2 separate regions of the Homo sapiens genome follow, and region 1 is linked to region 2. Evidence: promoter capture Hi-C in 16 types of primary human blood cells and fetal thymus (Javierre and others, 2016). All regions are on one chromosome and are shown on one strand. The core of a region is centred on a gene start or on the middle of the fragment in contact, and the rest is flanking DNA. Distances in the headings are between cores, read along the strand shown.

The links. Contacts are between HindIII fragments. The CHiCAGO score rates a contact against its expected background, and 5 or more counts as called.
Region 1: a contact is called between a fragment that was not itself captured here and the fragment with the promoter of TBC1D16 in region 2, in 1 of 17 cell types (total CD8 T cells). The highest score is 6.1, in total CD8 T cells.

The regions. Positions count from the first base shown.
Region 1 is chr17:79,746,756-79,750,703 of GRCh38, forward strand. No RefSeq gene overlaps it. Among named protein-coding and RNA genes, the nearest start is that of ENPP7, 18 kb to the left of the region's middle. RefSeq lists an enhancer at 932-1,871. The HindIII fragment of the contact is 3,074 bases long and covers 1-2,787 here.
Region 2 is chr17:80,034,408-80,038,311 of GRCh38, forward strand. TBC1D16 (TBC1 domain family member 16) reads right to left here and starts at 1,465. Exons shown (of 12, transcript NM_019020.4): 1 at 1,388-1,465. CCDC40 (coiled-coil domain 40 molecular ruler complex subunit) reads left to right here and starts at 2,235. Exons shown (of 20, transcript NM_017950.4): 1 at 2,235-2,284; 2 at 3,716-3,779. The coding sequence starts at 2,256. RefSeq lists a silencer at 1,464-1,533 and enhancers at 1,724-1,843, 2,743-3,037. The HindIII fragment of the contact is 6,044 bases long and covers 264-3,904 here.

The DNA of each region.
Region 1 (3,948 bases), core at 1-2,500, 290 kb before region 2:
AGGCACATCCACTCCCACACTCCTTAACCTGAAGGTCTAGGGTGGGCCTGAGACTCTGCATTTCTGACCAGAGCCTGCGTGATTCCGCTGCTGCTGGCCTGGGCCAGACACTCCAGAATCGCTGCACCTGATAAAGGTTATGGATAAATGAATGCATGAGGGAGTGAAAGCTGGTCCTGCCCATCCTCCTCAGGTTAAACGGATGAAAAGGCAGCACCACCCCTGGGCCAGGAACTGGGCAGAGGAGGGAGGGGAGCACAGGCACCTCCAGGCTCAATCCCAGTGGGGCCTGGCCAGCTCCTTCCCAGAGAGGCGCTGCTTGCTTATGCAAACAAGCCCTTTCTTTCCAGAATGCAGGGAGCACGGGCCCAGATTCTCTCCTCTGCACTGACGTCCGGCCTCTGTCAAAGGCAGGGACTTCCTTGGTTCACCATAAGCCTTTTCTTGTGTCCCGGGTCGGAACAGGAGAACCTGTAGGTTCATGTAACCGACAAGTCTGTTCGCGATGCCGTCCTGGGCTCCTTAAGGCCTGGGCTCCCCATCTTTAGTATGGGCGGGTTCATCTCCCACAAGCCGATCCTAAGAGCCAATAACCACGCCTGAGGCTTCCGACCTAGGAGCTGCAAACACCTGGCGCGGGGGACTCTCAGGGGAAAGAAACAGCAGGAATTACTCTGTCCCCAGCTCCAGGCCGGCAGAGGACCCGAGTGAGGTCCCCGGGTTCCCCGGGCAAGCAGCAGGGACCGAGGAGGGCACCGCGTCCCGACCCCTGCCCCGGCGCCCCACCAGGAGGGATGTCAAGGCGAGGGAGGATTCCCAGGGGTGCGTGCTGGGGCAGCCCAGTTCCTCCGCGGGCTTCTTTGGGACGAGCAGCCTCCCCTCCCCCACGCCCGCCTTCTGAGGTGCGCAGGGCCCCCTCCCCACCGCAGCGGCGCGGGGGCTGCAGGAGCATCTGTTGCCATGGTGACGCGCGGCGCTGCGCTCCTCGGATCCGGCGCCACCGCCGCCACCACCGCAGTCCAAGAAGCCGAGAGCTGGGGCTCAGGCGGGACCGGGACACCGGCATCCCGCACACGCGCCACACACACTGCACATGTGCGACGGGCATCCACGCACGCTGCACACCGGCACACTCACAGGCACACTCATGCGCTTGCCACCCCATCCCCCCACCCAGACACAGACACACAACACAACACACACGCACACACTGCACACACCTGGCACCGTGTGCACCACCTCATGCCACAAGCAGCCACACACCCCACACGCGCCCGAACAACACCCTTCACCCACACTGCACACGCTGCAGCCCTGTACACGCCACATAACACACGCACCCCACACACCCACTCGGGACCCCGACGCGGGTGAACAAGCGATGGGAACAGGCCCTCGGGGTGGGCCGTAGCGGGTAGGGCGGGCGGCGGGGGTCGCACCCGGGTCGGCGCACGCGCAGCAGGCTAGTGCCGCCCCCTCCCCCTCGCCGGCTGCCACGTCTTTGCCCTCTCCGCGGCCGGGCCCTGCGGGGCACCCTGGGTGCCCGACGGCCTCCGGGAGCGCGGTGGGCTCCAGCCCCGCACCCCGCGAAGGAACGGTCAGCGCAGTCCCCCGGGCCCTCCGCCCCTCGCCGGGCCTTGCGCGCCCCCCGCCGCCCGGAGCGCCTGAGTACCGCATCCCAGGGCGCGGCGCAGCCAACGCGCAACCCGCCCAGGTCAGGGGTGCCCGCGCCTGGGCCGCCGGCGGTGCGGTCCCGCAAGGGCGAGGGAGGGACTGGGCCTCGGGACCCCCATCCCCGGGATGCCTCCGTGCCTAGCCCGGACCGCGCCCTGGAAGAGATCGCCCTTCCATCCTGTGGGGTTGGAGGAGGGATGGGGCACCTCTGGGGCGGGGCAGGGACCCGGGCCCCTCGCGCACCCGCGGAGCCGGGAAAGCGATCCCCGAAGGCCCCAGTCTCTCCTGGCGCCTGGAGAACCCAATCAGGCTGTGTTTTTGGCTTTGGTTTTGGTGACAGATCACTGTGTGACTTTTGGCTTCAATGTCTGAAGAGGTTCAAACAGTGGAGAGACATAACCCTAAGAGAACTGTCCATCACCACGGATCAATTTACGTAAATGAGTTTTCTCACGGTCCAAGCCCATCAAAATAAAAACAGGTTTGGAATTGATTCTGGGCTCTGTCCCAGATAAGAAATAATATTTATCCAATGACATCTGAACCATTGGGAAAAAATACAATCCCACCCATCTCATTAAGAGATGCAGTCCAACAAAAATTTAACTTTTATGTATATAATAAACATATACTGCAATTTTAATATATTTATGCTGGTTTGATCAATTTAACAATTCAATTTAATATTCAATCCAGAATAAATTTTTTAAATACTGAGAGCCTTAGAGTCACAGGAAATAAAATATTTTAAATCTAAATTATGGTTCAAATATTGATATTTCTAGACCTGGTCTAATTCTAAAAGAATTTACTTTGATGAGCATTTTTGAGACATAGGTTAATATTTTTTAAAGTTTGAATAACTGATGTGCCTGTTCTTGTTGCAGACATATGCTTGGGTGAGCAGTGAATTACTTTCAAACATAAAAATATTTTTTATTACAATAAGGTTTTGGAGAAGAAATGAAACAGAACCCAGAGGTAAAGAAGAAAAGGATCAAAAAGAACCTGCCCTTTTATTGGGTCACATTGCTACCTTATTTCTATTTCATTGGATACACTTAAAAGGATTGCCCAAGGAAAACTGGAGGCAGATTGCACTTAGAAAAAAAAAGCTTTCTTGCAAAGGAGCCAGACTTCAGAAGGACTGACTCACCAAATACAAAAATCCAACAAGTATTTAAAGGGAAAAAAAATTCCCAAGAGAATCAAGGTTAGTAAATGTACATTCCTCTGTCTCTGGTGGTTAGCGGCAGCTTCCTCACGTGATTATGCTAATCCTAAAAGCTAGGACACCGGCTTGGAAAAGCAAAAGTCACAGCTAAAATTCTTGTTATTGTAGAGTCCAGGTCCACAGGAAGTAGTTAAGGTTTTATAATTTGGGGACTCTGTGATTTTTGGTTTCAACTGAAGAACTGTGACTTCTTCAATGATATTGGAAGCAGGATAAAATGTCAGCTTTGGCTTCTATAGAGAGAACAGCAGTTTTATTTTTTTAAATGCCAAAATTTACAGTACACTGGAAATCACATACTTTGCAACCATGTAAACTTCATGGTGGAAAAATGGTAGCTGTCAATCTTAAAAGGTGTCAAGGGCTATTATTTTTTTAAATTATTTTCCAGGCCATGTGGGTGAAGACACTTGGAGGCCATGACCCTAGGCCAGTTCCTTTTTGGACAGAAGAAGAAACTGAGGTTTAGGGGAGGAGAGTGACCTGTCCACTGTCCACAGCTGATAACAAGCAAGGGAGGCGGTGCAAACGCCCAACAGCCCAGGAAAGATGACACCCCCACCACCCATCGTTAGAGAAAAGTAAATTAATGCCACAGCACACCCCCTAGGATGGCTAGAACTTTTTATTTTTTTTAAAAAAAAGAAAATAACAAGTGTTGGTAAGGAGGTAGAAATGTTGCAGCCCTCAGAGATGGCAGGCTGGAGTGTAAGACGATGCAGCTTCCATGCGAATTCTGACAATTCCTCAGTAAGTTACACATGGAATAATTTATTGAATTATTGAAATTATTTGAATAATTTATTCAAACTTTTTTTTTTTGAGATGGAGTTTCGCTCTTGTTGCCCAGGCCGGAGTGCAGTGGCATGATCTTGGCTCACTGCAACTTCCACCTCCCAGGTTCAAGCGATTCTCCTGCCTCAGCCTCCTGAGTAGCTGGAACTACAGGCACACACCATCATGCCTGGCTAATTTTTGTATTTTTAGTAGAGACGGGGTTTCACTATCAGGCTGGTCTTGAACTCCTGACCTCAGATGAT
Region 2 (3,904 bases), core at 215-2,714:
GCCAGGCTGGTCTCGAACTCCTGACCTCAGGTGATCCGCTCGCCTCGTCCTCCCAAAGTGCTGGGATTACAGCCGTGAGCCACGGCGCCCAGCCATAAAAACTTTCGCCATAAAAACTTTCGTTAGCCATAGTCTCACCATAAACATGCCACTTACAAAAAAATATGCGCACAATAACCACGCTCAGGATGCAAACAACATCCATTAATGAACTTTGTAGTTAATACCAAAAGTTACTCCTCACTTTATTCTTTATTTACAAAAGCTTTCATGGTTCTTAAAAGTGTTTAGTATTCACCAATTTTACTGTTAGCGTTTCTAATGAGGATTTTCTAAAACTGAGGCATGGATTTGAAAAAGTGTTCTGATCAATCAGTAACAGATTTGGAATGGAATCTCCAGCCCCCAGTCTTTGCGCCCACCCTCTGGCAATATGCCGCCTCACGTGAGCATCTTTAAGACGGAGTTCCCTTTTTATTCCAGATAAAAGAATTAGGAGCCTTCTGGTAGAAAAGAAAGCAGATCTTCAGGATCAAGTCGCAGAGGCTGGCCAATCAGCCCAGCTTCTCATTTGAACTTGACCCAGACAGTAAAACAAACTTTACCATAAGGCGAGACTAACTTTTGTTATGTCTTTTCTATTCATTTCCTATTTCTGAATCAAATCTGAACTACTTTGTGGCCAATATACGACACCAGCTTCCGAGTGTGGGAATCACAGGATTTCAGGATTCAGCGGCTTCCGGCAGGATCCCCTAGGTTATGTTTAGCAATCTTCAGTTGCCTTTCCTTTTTTTCTTTCCTTCCTTTCGTTCTTTCTTTCTTTTTCTTTTTTTTTTTTTCCCAAAGGAAAGAACAAGGGAGCCCAGGCGGAACGGAAGTGAGTATCCCGACACGCGGATCTTAAACAGCCCAGACCACCAAGCCCGACAGGCCGGGAAAGCTGAGCGCGCGCTGCTGGGGGGACGCACACTTTGGAGGCTGTGTGGGCGCGCGCCGGCACCCCACAAGTTCTCATCCGTCTGCTCCGCCGATTCAGCCAGACAAAGACCGCAAGTTCCCCGGTCCACCGCTCCAGACAGGCGGGGACCAGTCTCCCCGAATTAGGCCCATTCCGGGCCCGGGCGCCCTCACTCGCCGCGGGGAAAAGTCCCCAGGTGCCCCTCCGTGATCCAGGTCCTCCCACAACGCTCCCGCTCCTGCTGGCGCCCCGCACCCCGAGGACGGCGGCCGGACCCCGGCCCCTCCCCGGTCCCGCGGCTGCAGGCCCACGCGCCCCACGCGCCCCGCGCGCCCCCGCCCCAGCTCCGCCGAGGGGGCGCTGCTCGCTGCGCGGTGGACCCCTCGGACCCCGCCCCCGCGGCCCCGTCCGGGCCCCGATACCCACCCGGGTCCCGCTGCGGGGGCCGGATTCGCGCCGGCTCCGAGAGCCGCCACCGTCGCCTCCGCCGCTGCCGCCGCCAGTGAGGCGCGGCGGGGCGGGGACGCGCGGGGAGGCCCGGCCCCCGGCCCGCCCCCGGGCCCGCCCCCGGCCCGGCCCCTGCCTGCCCCCGCCGGTCTCCCCGCCCACCTTCTGGCCCAGCCCTGGGCCCAAGCCTCTAGTTCCCTGCTGGCCCTCCCTCAGGCCTCGCCGCGTCCCGGCCTCGGGGACTGTGCCCCGTCCCGAGCCTGGCGTCCCCAAAGGAAAGGCAGGGCTCCTCGGACGCTCCGCGTGCGCGCTGGCCCTCCGCTGCCGCCCTCTGCAGGGAGATTTCTCCTATTTCGGACTAGGAAGGGAAGATACGCTCCGGAAGACCCCCCGGGCGTCCATGCAAGGAGTCTCCGTAGGACCCCTGGAGAAGGGCACCGGAGCCCCCTAGGGCAGGAGATGGAAAAGCGCTCGCCATGCGCGGGGTCCCCGGCCCCCGGTGCCCCCAGCCCGCCTGCCATTCCCGGGCGCTTAGCAGTCCGGGGTCCCCAGGTGCCCGGCAGGTCCCTTCGGGACCTCGAGCCGCCCGCTGGGCACACGCTGACGCCGCTGTCGCTTTACAGAAATTGAGCGCAGCCGAGGCGGGACCCGGGCGCAGAGAGCGATAAAGGAAAAGCATGGTCGTGCTCTAATCATTACAGTCTAAGGGACGACACGTCGAGACGGCGCGCGCCTCTGCGTGCGTGGAGATGGCACAAAGGCCGCGCCGCCCCCGGCGGCCCCCGCCCTCGCAGCGCGCGTGGTCCCGGCCCGGCCGGATGTTGACAGCGTCGCCTAGCAACGGGAAATGGCGGAACCGGGCGGCGCGGCGGGCCGGTAAGCCGGGCCGAGGGGCAGCGGGTCTTGGAGTCGCCAGGCCGCGCTCTCCGTTCACCGCTCCAGGTGGCCCCCGCGTCGGCTCCTGCCTCGCCCCTTCGCCTCCACTCCCCCTTCCTCTCGCCTGTGTCCCTTCTCTCGCCATTTTGCTGGCCTTTCCCGTCCACTGCGTTCAGCCCCTCACCCCCCCGCCAACCCTTCTCACTTCTCCCCTCCTGTCCCTTTGTCCTCTCTCGGCCTCCCTCTTTCCCCTACTCCAAGCGCGCGACTCCCTCTAAAACCCGGGACCGCTCACTCTGCAGTCACCATGGCAACCACTCTGCGTGGCGGTCCCTGCGCGCAGTCCTCCTAAGAGTAGAGGGCTCTGCAGGGCGCGGGGCTGTTGGATACCGCCCCTGACCTTGCTCCGGGGCCACTCGCTGTGGCCGGAGACCAGCCCGGCCCCGCGCCTCCCTCCTGCAAGGACAGATCCCCTCTCGCAGGCTTGGGGGTGACCCGCGATGGGAGGGGTCCCTGCGGTTAGGCGGCCCGCGATAGTCCGCGGTCACCGTCCTGGGGCCTGGGTGGAAGCACTGAGCGCGCACAGGGAGGGCGGCTGAGTGAAGATCCCTGCCACCGGGCCTCTGCTCGCTTAGGCTCTGTTTAAAAGGATAGAAACGATTGGAAAGAGTTTGGCCTTTTTACCTTAGACACATCGGTATTGTTTCATTTTTTTAAAGGTGGGTCTGTATGTATTGACATGGAAAGACTAAAGGTATTATTAATAAAACGATAGGCATAAATGTAAAAGGGTAGGTATACTATGATCTCTAATTCAGGGTGTGTGTGTGTGTTTAAAACATAGAAAAATGTTGAAAGAATGTGGTCCTAAATGTTATCAATGATTATCTTGGGAAGGAAAGGGAAGATCACAGGGAACTGTCACTGTCTGTCTCTTTGAACATATCTATATTCCTTTGACAGATAAAAATAGCTTGAATCTTTAATTTTTTAAAAAAGATATACATATATATATATATATATATATATTCCTGTGCTACGTAAATCGTGGAGAAACTCAGAGTCCCCAGAACACTTACTCTGATCGCGCTACTTTCTCTACGTTGTATTTCTTTTCCCCAGTTTTGTCCCAGACACAAGTTATATTTGAGGTGACTTTTCTGGGGTGATCTAATCCTGCTGTTCCTTCGATGTTTTAATAATTATATTTTTCATTCATTCATGGAGCTTTGCTTTTGTGGCATCTCCGCCACCTGACAGGCATGATATAGTGCTATGGTTCCTGACAAACAGGACAAAGACGTGACAACAGCCTGGGGGTGGCAGAGAAGTAACAAGTAAATAAACAGATGTGCAGAATTCAGGAGGGGATAAGGACCAAGAAAAAGAAAGCTGTTGCTTGAAACTGTTCAATTGTTTCTCTAAAACCAGGTCCCATCCGGAAGATGGATCGGCTTCTGAGGGAGAGAAGGAAGGGAATAATGAAAGCCACATGGTAAAATTCCCTATGGGCAGTTATTCCGGGCTTATATTTACTAGGAATTAAAGAGAATCAGAGTACGGGCACTGTGGCTCACGCCTGTAATCCCAACACTTTGGGAGGCCAAGGCAGGTGGATCA